2 separate regions of the Homo sapiens genome follow, and region 1 is linked to region 2. Evidence: promoter capture Hi-C in 16 types of primary human blood cells and fetal thymus (Javierre and others, 2016). All regions are on one chromosome and are shown on one strand. Each heading gives the region's core, a stretch centred on a gene start or on the middle of the fragment in contact. The rest is flanking DNA. Distances are from core to core; before and after follow the strand shown.

The links. Contacts are between HindIII fragments. The CHiCAGO score rates a contact against its expected background, and 5 or more counts as called.
Region 1: a contact is called between a fragment that was not itself captured here and the fragment with the promoter of ARL13B in region 2, in 1 of 17 cell types (total B cells). The highest score is 9.2, in total B cells.

Annotation. Positions count from the first base shown.
Region 1 is chr3:97,966,275-97,971,145 of GRCh38, forward strand. It overlaps RIOX2 (ribosomal oxygenase 2), which reads right to left. Exons shown (of 10, transcript NM_153182.4): 2 at 888-1,358. The coding sequence starts at 1,319. Among named protein-coding and RNA genes, the nearest start is that of RIOX2, 3.7 kb to the right of the region's middle. The HindIII fragment of the contact is 479 bases long and covers 2,943-3,421 here.
Region 2 is chr3:93,977,483-93,982,193 of GRCh38, forward strand. ARL13B (ARF like GTPase 13B) reads left to right here and starts at 2,673. Exons shown (of 10, transcript NM_001174150.2): 1 at 2,673-3,000. The coding sequence starts at 2,942. RefSeq lists enhancers at 2,281-2,440, 2,711-2,840. The HindIII fragment of the contact is 5,745 bases long and covers 1-3,315 here.

The DNA of each region.
Region 1 (4,871 bases), core at 1,932-4,431, 4.0 Mb after region 2:
CCTCACAAACCCCTCTCTTTCTCCTCCTATGTTGCCATTTTGATTTAATGAAGGGTCACAGAAGGGGGTTTCTGAATGGGGATAAAAGTTTATCTAAAATTCAGAACAGCCCCTCACCTATTCTGGGCCATCTGTCATGAGATGAGATACAGATCTCAAACCTTGAGGAAAACAAATTAGTTCATACTAAATCTGCATTTTATAAATGTAGAAACCAAGCATAGAGGAGGCAAATTATTTCCCAAATGTCAATCCCTGATATAGAAAAAAATTTAAAAATTTGCCAATCCTCTGCATTTGCAAAGCAAAGATTTCCTCCACCTATGAAGCCTTACCAGGAGCAGTTCCAGGTACCTCAATGTCACCCATTCGGGTGTTATTAAGGGTGAAGTCTCTTTATTGGACTTGCATCTAGCATGTGATCTGGTCATGGCTCTGAAGCCTCCATTTAGATGCAGGCAGTAAAGGGAAGCAACTTCGGGAAAAAATGATCACCTTGATGCTGTCATGCCTTAAATTACAGTGATGTGACAAACCAAATAGAAATGTCTATCATATAGAAAAACATAAACTGGCTCACAGAACATACTCCTGCAGTTGTAGTGCCACTTTAACAACTTTATAAACTTGCAGTATAATTAGTTTTGCAGCTCAATGATACCCAACAATGTCTACCCTGAGTTGCTGGAGTTTCTAACAGTCCAACCAAACATAACACATAATCTTAATCCTAGTTAGAATGCATTTAGACCAAAGAGGTGCTACCCCTTCTCAAACTGGCAAGAGACTAACCATCATCAAACTACGTATTCACCCTTGAGCTGATATGTGGCCAAATGTTAGTACTTTAAAATGTATGAGGATTCTGCAATGGGGAAACTGGTTACCTTAAATCTCTGAGGTTGGTGAAACTGAATCGTTGCCCTTTTCTGATCAAAATCTTTTCTCAGCTGAAGAAAGTGTGCTTTGCCATCTTTATTTAAAACCTTCTTCTTCCCATTGACACACCGGCAGACATTCACATCTCTTCCATAGTACATCCCCCGGCTGCACAGACTCTTCAGATCTGTTAGCTTGAACAGGGACCCATAGTATGTGGCCAGTGCAGGGTCATCTCTCTGAATGAGAAGGGGCTTCTGCTCCCAGAATTCCTTGAAAAAAGTCTCTGTCTTGATGGGCGAGATTAAACTTTCAAAGAGACTACTGGGACTGTCAAAGTTTAAAGCTGAAGGCCCCCCAGCTGCTTCTAACTTCATCTGCTTACAGGGAGCCGGCCCCTCTTCCTTCCCACTCCCTGTAGGCTTTGCTTTCTTTGGCATCGTTCTGTCTTCAAGACAAAGCAGTAAGGAAATGCAAACCTACCAAAAGAACAAAACACACATGGTTAGGTTTACAAGGAGTGCCAGCATTGGTGTTAGTGGATCGCGCGCACACACAACTGAATGACCATTACACCTTCGTGAGAACTCTTCATAGGTCAAAGCTACTTCCCCCAGGATAGGAGACAGCCTTAAGCCAATGCCATTTCTTCTAAGATATGATTCAAGCTCAACCACCACTCAGATGACATATTCATCTAAAGAAGAACGTGTTTTTCTTTTACACAAGCACTATGTCATGGTATTATTTATTAGGCAGTATAATTATCCCAAATAAACCTATTCAACTGTCTCAGCAGTTCCTACTCACAGGTTTAGCCTGTGGCCACTGACACAGCAAAGTCAAATATCTTGGATTTGGCTCCCATCAGCATCAGGGCCCACATCTAATTAGATGTACTCTGAGTTACAAACATTTGACTAGAGAAAAACTAACAGCCGCCCACTGCCAGGTGCTCCTCACCGCAGCACCACCCCAACTGTTGCGCAGGTCAATCAATGCGCCCTGGACCCGCGGTGTCTCCTGGTGGCTGGAGCAGGCCACTGCCTTCTCCTGTCTCCACTAACCACCTGAACCTGCTCACTTCCAACTCTGAGCTTATTCCTGAAAACGGCCACTTTTATCAGAAACTCCCCTTCGTTTAAAGAAATAAAGCCCCTAAAGGCTGAAAAGTGAAGGCTAAAAGTAGTTATATCTAAAGCCTTGAAAAAACTATAACTTTTTAACTGAAGATTTTAAATAATACCAATATCATTAGCCCCTAACACAGCACTTCTCCAACTTTAATGTGCACACAGATCACCTTAGCATCTCAATAAAATGCAGGATATGATCCACTAGCTCCAAGGTGAAGCCTGAGGTTCTGCATTTCTAACAGGCTCCCAGGTGATGCTTCTGCTGCTGACACTGCTGAGTAGTCGAAGCCACACAGCCAAGCCTTGCAAAGCTCCTTCAGAACTGCCTCCAAACCACAACTATTGATACTTAGAGGGTAGGTTTCCCTCATCTGTTTCCAAGAACTGTAATTCAAATTATTTAAATTTCCTGAGACTGCAAAATTCTATCTTAAAGTCCTTTCCCTCTGGGAAGGGACTCCATCACTTTCAACAGATTCTTAAGGAAGTCCCTATCTCCTGACAAGGTTAAGAACCACTGTACTTATAAAAACCAAAATTTCTGAAAGACTTGTTATTTATAAATGGTATAGTTTCCTACTTTGGTGAGTTATCAGAATTGCAAGAATACTGTTTTCTGTTCTTTTGTCATTATAACTAAGCAGTATTTCAGCTACACTGTAGACTAAGTGGAATTAATGTTCTGGCCTGGGAAGTAAGCATCCTGGAACGATGTGTTGCATACTGTGTGACGTGTTGCAACTTATAAAAGAAACTTTAGATTGAAACCCAGATGTAAACTGAACAAATTAAGAAAGGAAATGTCAAAATATAAAACCCTCTAAACAGCTCCATTCCTTCAAAAGACCAGGTGCTTTTGATAAGGAAACACAGGACATGGTGGAAGACTAACACAAACTGATACTACAGGAGAGGGGTAAAGCTTGAAGCTTAGAAAAAAAAAATAAACTTTAGTGTTTAGGATATGTGGTCAGTAAGACACATTTTCTGAAAATGTTTCCTTTAAGTGAAACAGACCAGCTTGAATTCTCCAGGAAAGAATTAAGGCTTCAGGAAGGCACAGCATTGCTAGTACATGGAACTCTCAAGTGATGGAGAAATACAAAGAGATAGAAAAATGGATTCGGGAAGGGGTACTGCTTATGCAGAAGACGTTCCATAGCAGGCCTGACTGCTATCCTTTGAAAGTGCAGCTTGTGGCCGATGTCTGAGAACTTAAGATTTTGGGAGAGTTTCCACCACCATTAACTGATAGGAGTGGCTCACCATGCCTAAAATGTACAATCATTACAGTTTATACCAACACCTGCTTTCCTCTGGGAGTCTGGAAACGTTGGTATGTGCCAGGCAGGGGTGGCCTAAGTGAAAAGCCCCCAGTAAAAGCCCTGGGCACTGAGTCTCTAACAAGCTTCGCAGGTTGGCAACATTTCACAAGTGTTGACACAACTAGTTGCTGGAGCAACTGAGCACAGCCAGTGTGACCGCTCGAAGACCCTTGGAGCCTTGCACTTGGTATCCCCAGAACTTCACCCATGTGCCTCTTCCCTTTGCTGACTGTGCTTGATATCTTTTCCCTGTAATAAATCAGCCGAGTCCTCCTAGCAAATTGCTGAACTAAAGATGGCCTTGGGGACCACAGCACATTGCTCACGTTTAATTTTTAAAAACTTAGATTGGTTTATTAGGTTTGTATTACTAAAGGCACCCTATAGAGTCATTTTATATTCAGCCACACATCTCTTATCTCTCACAATTGGTCAGTTTAAAATTCATTTAAGGGGAGAGAGCAGGAGGAAGATGCAAACGAAAAGCTTTTCTTTAAGCATAATATATGAATACAGTATAAGCACATTCACCAGAAAGTGTGGCTAATCAAAGAATGCAAAACACTTAAGCCAAAATAAAATCACTTAAAAGAATCTTTCCCATCTACAATCACTAACAAACCCCAATACTGTATAACAAATGCTTTCCTTAGAATATAAATTTCACTACCCATACTGCCAAAAGTTACATCATTTGTTTCTCTGTGTTCATGTTGAAATGATTTGAGGCTCAGTTAATTGGAGCCTAAGCTTAGAGGTTTCTGGGCAAATACATTATTTCTCTGATTCTCACACTACTCATACTGTAAGACAACCATTCCTCTTAACAGCTTTCTAGAGCAGAGGGGAGAATAGATGAAGCATCCTACCACATTAAACATACAAAAGTCTTAAGGTACATATCATAATTTCGGAAACAGCAAGAAGTAAAACACATATCTTAGAATCCAATACTATAGTAATTAAAGAAGACAATGCTTTGTCTAGAATAGTACAGCCAACACAACCTTGCCCATAAGCCTTAGAGACCACCCCAATAGGAGTAAATATTTCTGTAAAATCACAGAAAAGTTTTTGAAGAGCAATTGTTTTCCATTTGAGTTGACTATAAGCATTAAATGTAAAAAGACTAAAAGATTTACAGTTCATACTTTGGTGACTACCCCACAGATAAACCCTATAAGAAAATCAATGTTGACAACCATACTATAGGCAACAGACAGACAGTCACTATATTTTAAAGGTACCCTAACCTCCTTTTCTATAATATTTGAGGACATGAAGACGTGAGGAAGCTCTTGAAGGAAAGGATTTGTATATCCCCGGAAACAAGCACGGTGTGGTACATAGGAGGTCCTCAAGAAATGTCTGCTGAATTTTTCACATTTTCATCTTTTGTCTGTATACAATTTTGGAGACAAACCACAAAGGCCTTACACAAAACAGTTACGGAAAAAACAGATGGCCTGTGCAGAGGGGATTATTTTTCTGATTGCAGCTGTCACTTCAGGATTCAAGAGTATCGTAAAAG
Region 2 (4,711 bases), core at 1,423-3,922:
CCTGCCCTGCTCTCCTGTCTCCCACCATGGATATTTGGAGGTAGGAGGACACATACCATAAGTGTTTATGGGACAGGTGACACCAACTTTAAAATTTGCTATCTATTATTTATCAGAAATTACACTTGAGCTTCATTTCTCTCATTTCATCACCTTAGCAACCTGGAAAAGTAGGTATTTTAATTTCCATGTTATAGATAGGGTTGTTGGAGCTTAGAAGAAAATATCCCAGAATAAAGGCCTCAGAAGCAAAGTTTCTGTCTCTAACCTTCTGTTCCTCGTCTCTTGCCCCTCATTCTCCCACTATGCAAGCCATAGAAACTATAATTCCTCTTTCTCCAGGTGCAGTTATAGAAACCACAACCCCCTTTCCCCAAAGCCAGCCACAAACCCCAAAATATTACTCTAACCTTCTTCCTTTCCATGAAAGACCTGCCCATAAATAAATTCTTTGACTTGCATTGTTTGATAGTACGTCTTAAGACTCCCATTCTAGAAAGGGTCCTACCCCATACCCTGGAAGAAGGAATGCTGAACAATCAGGTCAAGAGGAATCTGAACAGACAGGCCTTGCTGAGTTTCTCCACACAGTCTGCTCTCATTAGGTCATATCCTTTTTGACCAATGAGAGTTCTTCAGGGTTTTTCATTCTTCATCGAACCCAAGTATAAAAATGGGTAGTCTTCCCTGCATCTTTGCATCTCCATTTGCAAGGTTCCCATGTCACATAAAACTTGGATTAAATAAATTTGTTATGCTTTTCTCTTGCTATTCTTTTTGTTATATGAGTGTTGGCTGTGACTGTTATGATGAGAAGAAAAGGTATCACCCCCTTTGTTCCCCATAAGGCACAGTATTTTGGAGATAGCAAGCTGTATGAGATGTATATAAATTTGAATTAAAATTACATGAGGCTGGGTGCCATGGCTCATGTCTATAATCCCAGCACTTTTGGGAGGCCGAGGCAGGCGGATCATTTGAGGCCAGGAGTTTGAGACCAGCCTGGGCAACATGATGAAACCCTGTCTCTACAAAAAATACAAAAATCAGCTGGGCGTGATGGTGCACGTCTCTAGTCCCAGCTACTTGGGAGACTGAGGAAGGAGGATCACTTGACCCCAGGAAGCGGAGGTTGCAGTGAATCGAGATCATGCCACTGTACTCCAACCTGGGTGATAGAGGGAGACTCTGTCTCAAACAAAACAAAACAAAACCAAAAAAAGTTACATGATTTAGTAAAGGACAGAGACTAATTTAAAACCTATATGTATCTTAGTCTCAAATCATTATATTCCCCGCGAATACACTGGGATTCTCAGTGCCTTCTATCCTTTCATCAGGATTTGAAAATATTTATTTAAGTAGAAAATGAATGGACACACAGATCCCTACATATTGTGCATAATTTTTTCCCTACAGGAATGTCCTTGTCATTTCTTTTTCTCCAAAGTATATAAAAGAAATGCAAATATTACATACCTCTTTAAAAAATAAACTATTACAAAACAGTCAAGAGATAACAATCTTCATCTTGCAGATACCAAATAGCCAGCAATTTATGTACCTAAAAATCCTGAAACAAACATACATCAAAATGGTTATTTATTTATTTTTGAGACGGAGTCTTGCTCTGTTGCCCAGACTGGAGTGCAGTGGCGCGATCTCGGCTCACTGCAACCTCCGCCTCCCGGGTTCAAGCAATTCCCCTGCCTCAGTCTCCAGCGTAGCTGGGACTACAGGCGCGTGCCACCACACCCGTTTTTGTTTTTTTTTGTTTTTTTTTTTTTGTATTTTTACTAGAGACGGGGTTTCACCATGTTAGCCAGGATGGTCTAGATCACCTGGCCTCGTGATCCGCCCGCCTCGGCCTCACAAAGTGCTGGGATTACAGGCGTGAGCCACCGCGCCCGGCCCCAAATGGTTATCTTTGAGAGCTCCTGTGAGATCTCATTTTCTTCATCTTGTTTCTTTTTAGTATTTTTCACATTTTCTACAAGAAATGCATTTTTCTTTTGTAATCACAATCCCCCCTACAACAAATATCATACAATTCCGTTTCACATATGTAACAGTAATAAACGTTTTAGAGATTAAGGCTTCACTCTCATCTGAACTACTGAGAAAATTTAGCAAGCGAATTTCCCCCTTGTCTTTAACTTACAAGAATTGCCCCAGTGTATTGTTCCTGTAGTCATGCTGCCTAAGTCGGCCAGAATTCTAGAGGGTCCCCATCCCTGAGCAAAAAACAAACAAACAAAAAACAAGAAAAAAGAAAGAAAGAAAAAGAAAAACCCATGCACAAGACCTGAGATCTCTGAATCTCAGTTGGGGACACTGGAGAAAGGAAAGGAACAGCACCGTGGATTGGCAACACATTTTATGTAGGTATAAAGATAGGCCTTGCTGGAGATTTGTCCCGGATCCTCCAGCTTATCTCCGGACGCTCCGGTTGCCTAGTTACGAGAACGAGCTACCTCGAGCTCCGCCTCCTTCTTATAGAGTACTCCCCTTTCTCTTTTCCTAGTCTCGCGCAGGGGCGGGTAGCCAGGACTCTTCAGCCACTCAGAGGCCTCTACCTCAGGACCTCAACCGATGATTGGGCGAGCGCAGTACGGGCGTTGCCTGGGGAACGCCTTCCGCGCCTCGAAGTAACGTCAGCACGTCGACGCGGGGCTTTTCTTTAGCCGGGTCCCGCTAACTCGGCTACGGTGTATCTGCGTCTTTGGTCAGGTTGTTCCTTGGCTAAGAGGGCAGTCGTCGCGGACCCACGCGGTTAGCAAGGCTTAGTGCTCGGGCCGGCCGCCTTCACTTCCCTCCCGGCTTTTCCTCCCGACTTATCCACTTTAGGGGCGTCTCGGAGTGCCGGAGGCCCCCGGGGAAGAGCGGGGTGCCGGTGTCCGCTCCGGGCTCGGATGGGAAGTGGTGGGAGGAGCGACCCGGGATGTTCAGTCTGATGGCCAGTTGCTGCGGCTGGTTCAAGCGGTGGCGGGAGCCTGTCAGGTAGGCTGGAGCCAGCTGTCCTGGCCGTCCTAGGGGTTGGAGATGGCTGCGCCCCAGGGGCGAGGCGCCGCCTTTTCCCCGCGCCTGGACGAGTCTATCCCAGGCCGCAAGGGATGCTTTCATTCCCAGGGTGTCCCGGGAGGGAGAGATTGGAGGATGTAGCCTTGTTGTCTGGTCGACTTTCTGTTGCGATTGACAATGCTTACCGTTGTTATATTTTAAATAGGTTTGAATTTGTTAAAAAGTGTGTGTGTGTGTGTGTGTGTGTGTGTGTGTGTGGAATTGAAAACTATCCATTGTGTGTTTTTCCTCTGAAGCTTTTGTAATGGAAATTCTTTTAAAAAGAGGGGGACATGGAATATAGTTTTCATAATATCCGCACATTCCATTCCAAGTCACACCTCCACACAGTTGTATTTGAGGACGTGGGCTTGAAATCTGGCTCCACTACTTAATAATTACATGACTCAACCATTTTGGCCCCACCTTTCTTAAATATTAAATGAGAGTGATAATACTCTGCTTTAGAAATATTGTATTCAATGAGAACAAGTGATAGTGTTTTCTTAACTGTAATGTAGCTTCCAATTTTTATACGGTCTCTAGTAAAACCTTTTAATTGAAAGGGTCCACTTTTTAACATTTCATTTTGAAATGCTGGAAGTATTAATAATTAGTACCTGTTACTTGATATTCATTCATTCAAAAAATATTTATTAAGACAATACCTTGTGCCAGGCACTGTCTTAGGAAATAATCAGTGAAATTGATGCTTTTGAAACTGAGGCCTAACCTATAAAGAGATCTTGTGTTTGTTACACAAATAATGTTGACTTCACATAGTTCTAGTCTGGAATTGGGCCAAGGGTAAGATAAAGCAAAGTTGTTTTTTTTTTTAAATTGTTAACATTTTAAGTATATTTGCCATGAGAATGAACTATCCTTTAAAGAATGAATCTGAAAAGCTACACTTACACATTATAACAGAAAATACATGTCTAGATTGGAAAAAAAGTAACTTTAAATGAAACTAGAGATTCTTCCCCATTATTAGCTCCTAACTGAATTTGAATGTTTTAAATATAAGTAGTAAGATCAACTCTGTAAGTCAAAGATGGGCTGGGTGTGGTGGCTCACGCCTGTAATCCCAGCACTTTGGGAGGCCGAAGCTGGCCGATCTTTGGAGCCCTGGAGTTCGAGACCAGCCTGGTCAATATGGCGAAACCCCGTTTCTACAATAAAATAAACGGGCACGGTGACGCACGCCTGTAGTCCAAGCTACTTCGGAGGCTGAATCAGTAGGATCACTTGAGCCTGGGAGGCGGAGGTTGCAGTGAGCCGATATCGCTGCACTCCCTGAGTGACACAGTGCAACCCTGTCTCAAAAAAAAAAAAAAAAAAAAAAAAGAAAAAAGTCAAAGAGTTGTTTTAGGTGCATAGATTCTGATTTATTTGCTTTAATTATATTCTGGTCTAATTTCACAGTATCTACTAAGACTTGAGGGTCATTCATAATAGTTGACCCCTCATTTTCCTCCGTGTCTGCTTTTAAGAAATGTATTTGGTTTCTGTGAAGGCATGTATATAACTTACGTTCTTTTAACGAGAAACAGTGAAAACGTGTAATTCGAAGAAGGAGTGTTCAATTTAATTCATCATTCTTAGTCTTTCCTTTTCTTAGCAGCTTTTGTATATATACTCTCTGGAATGA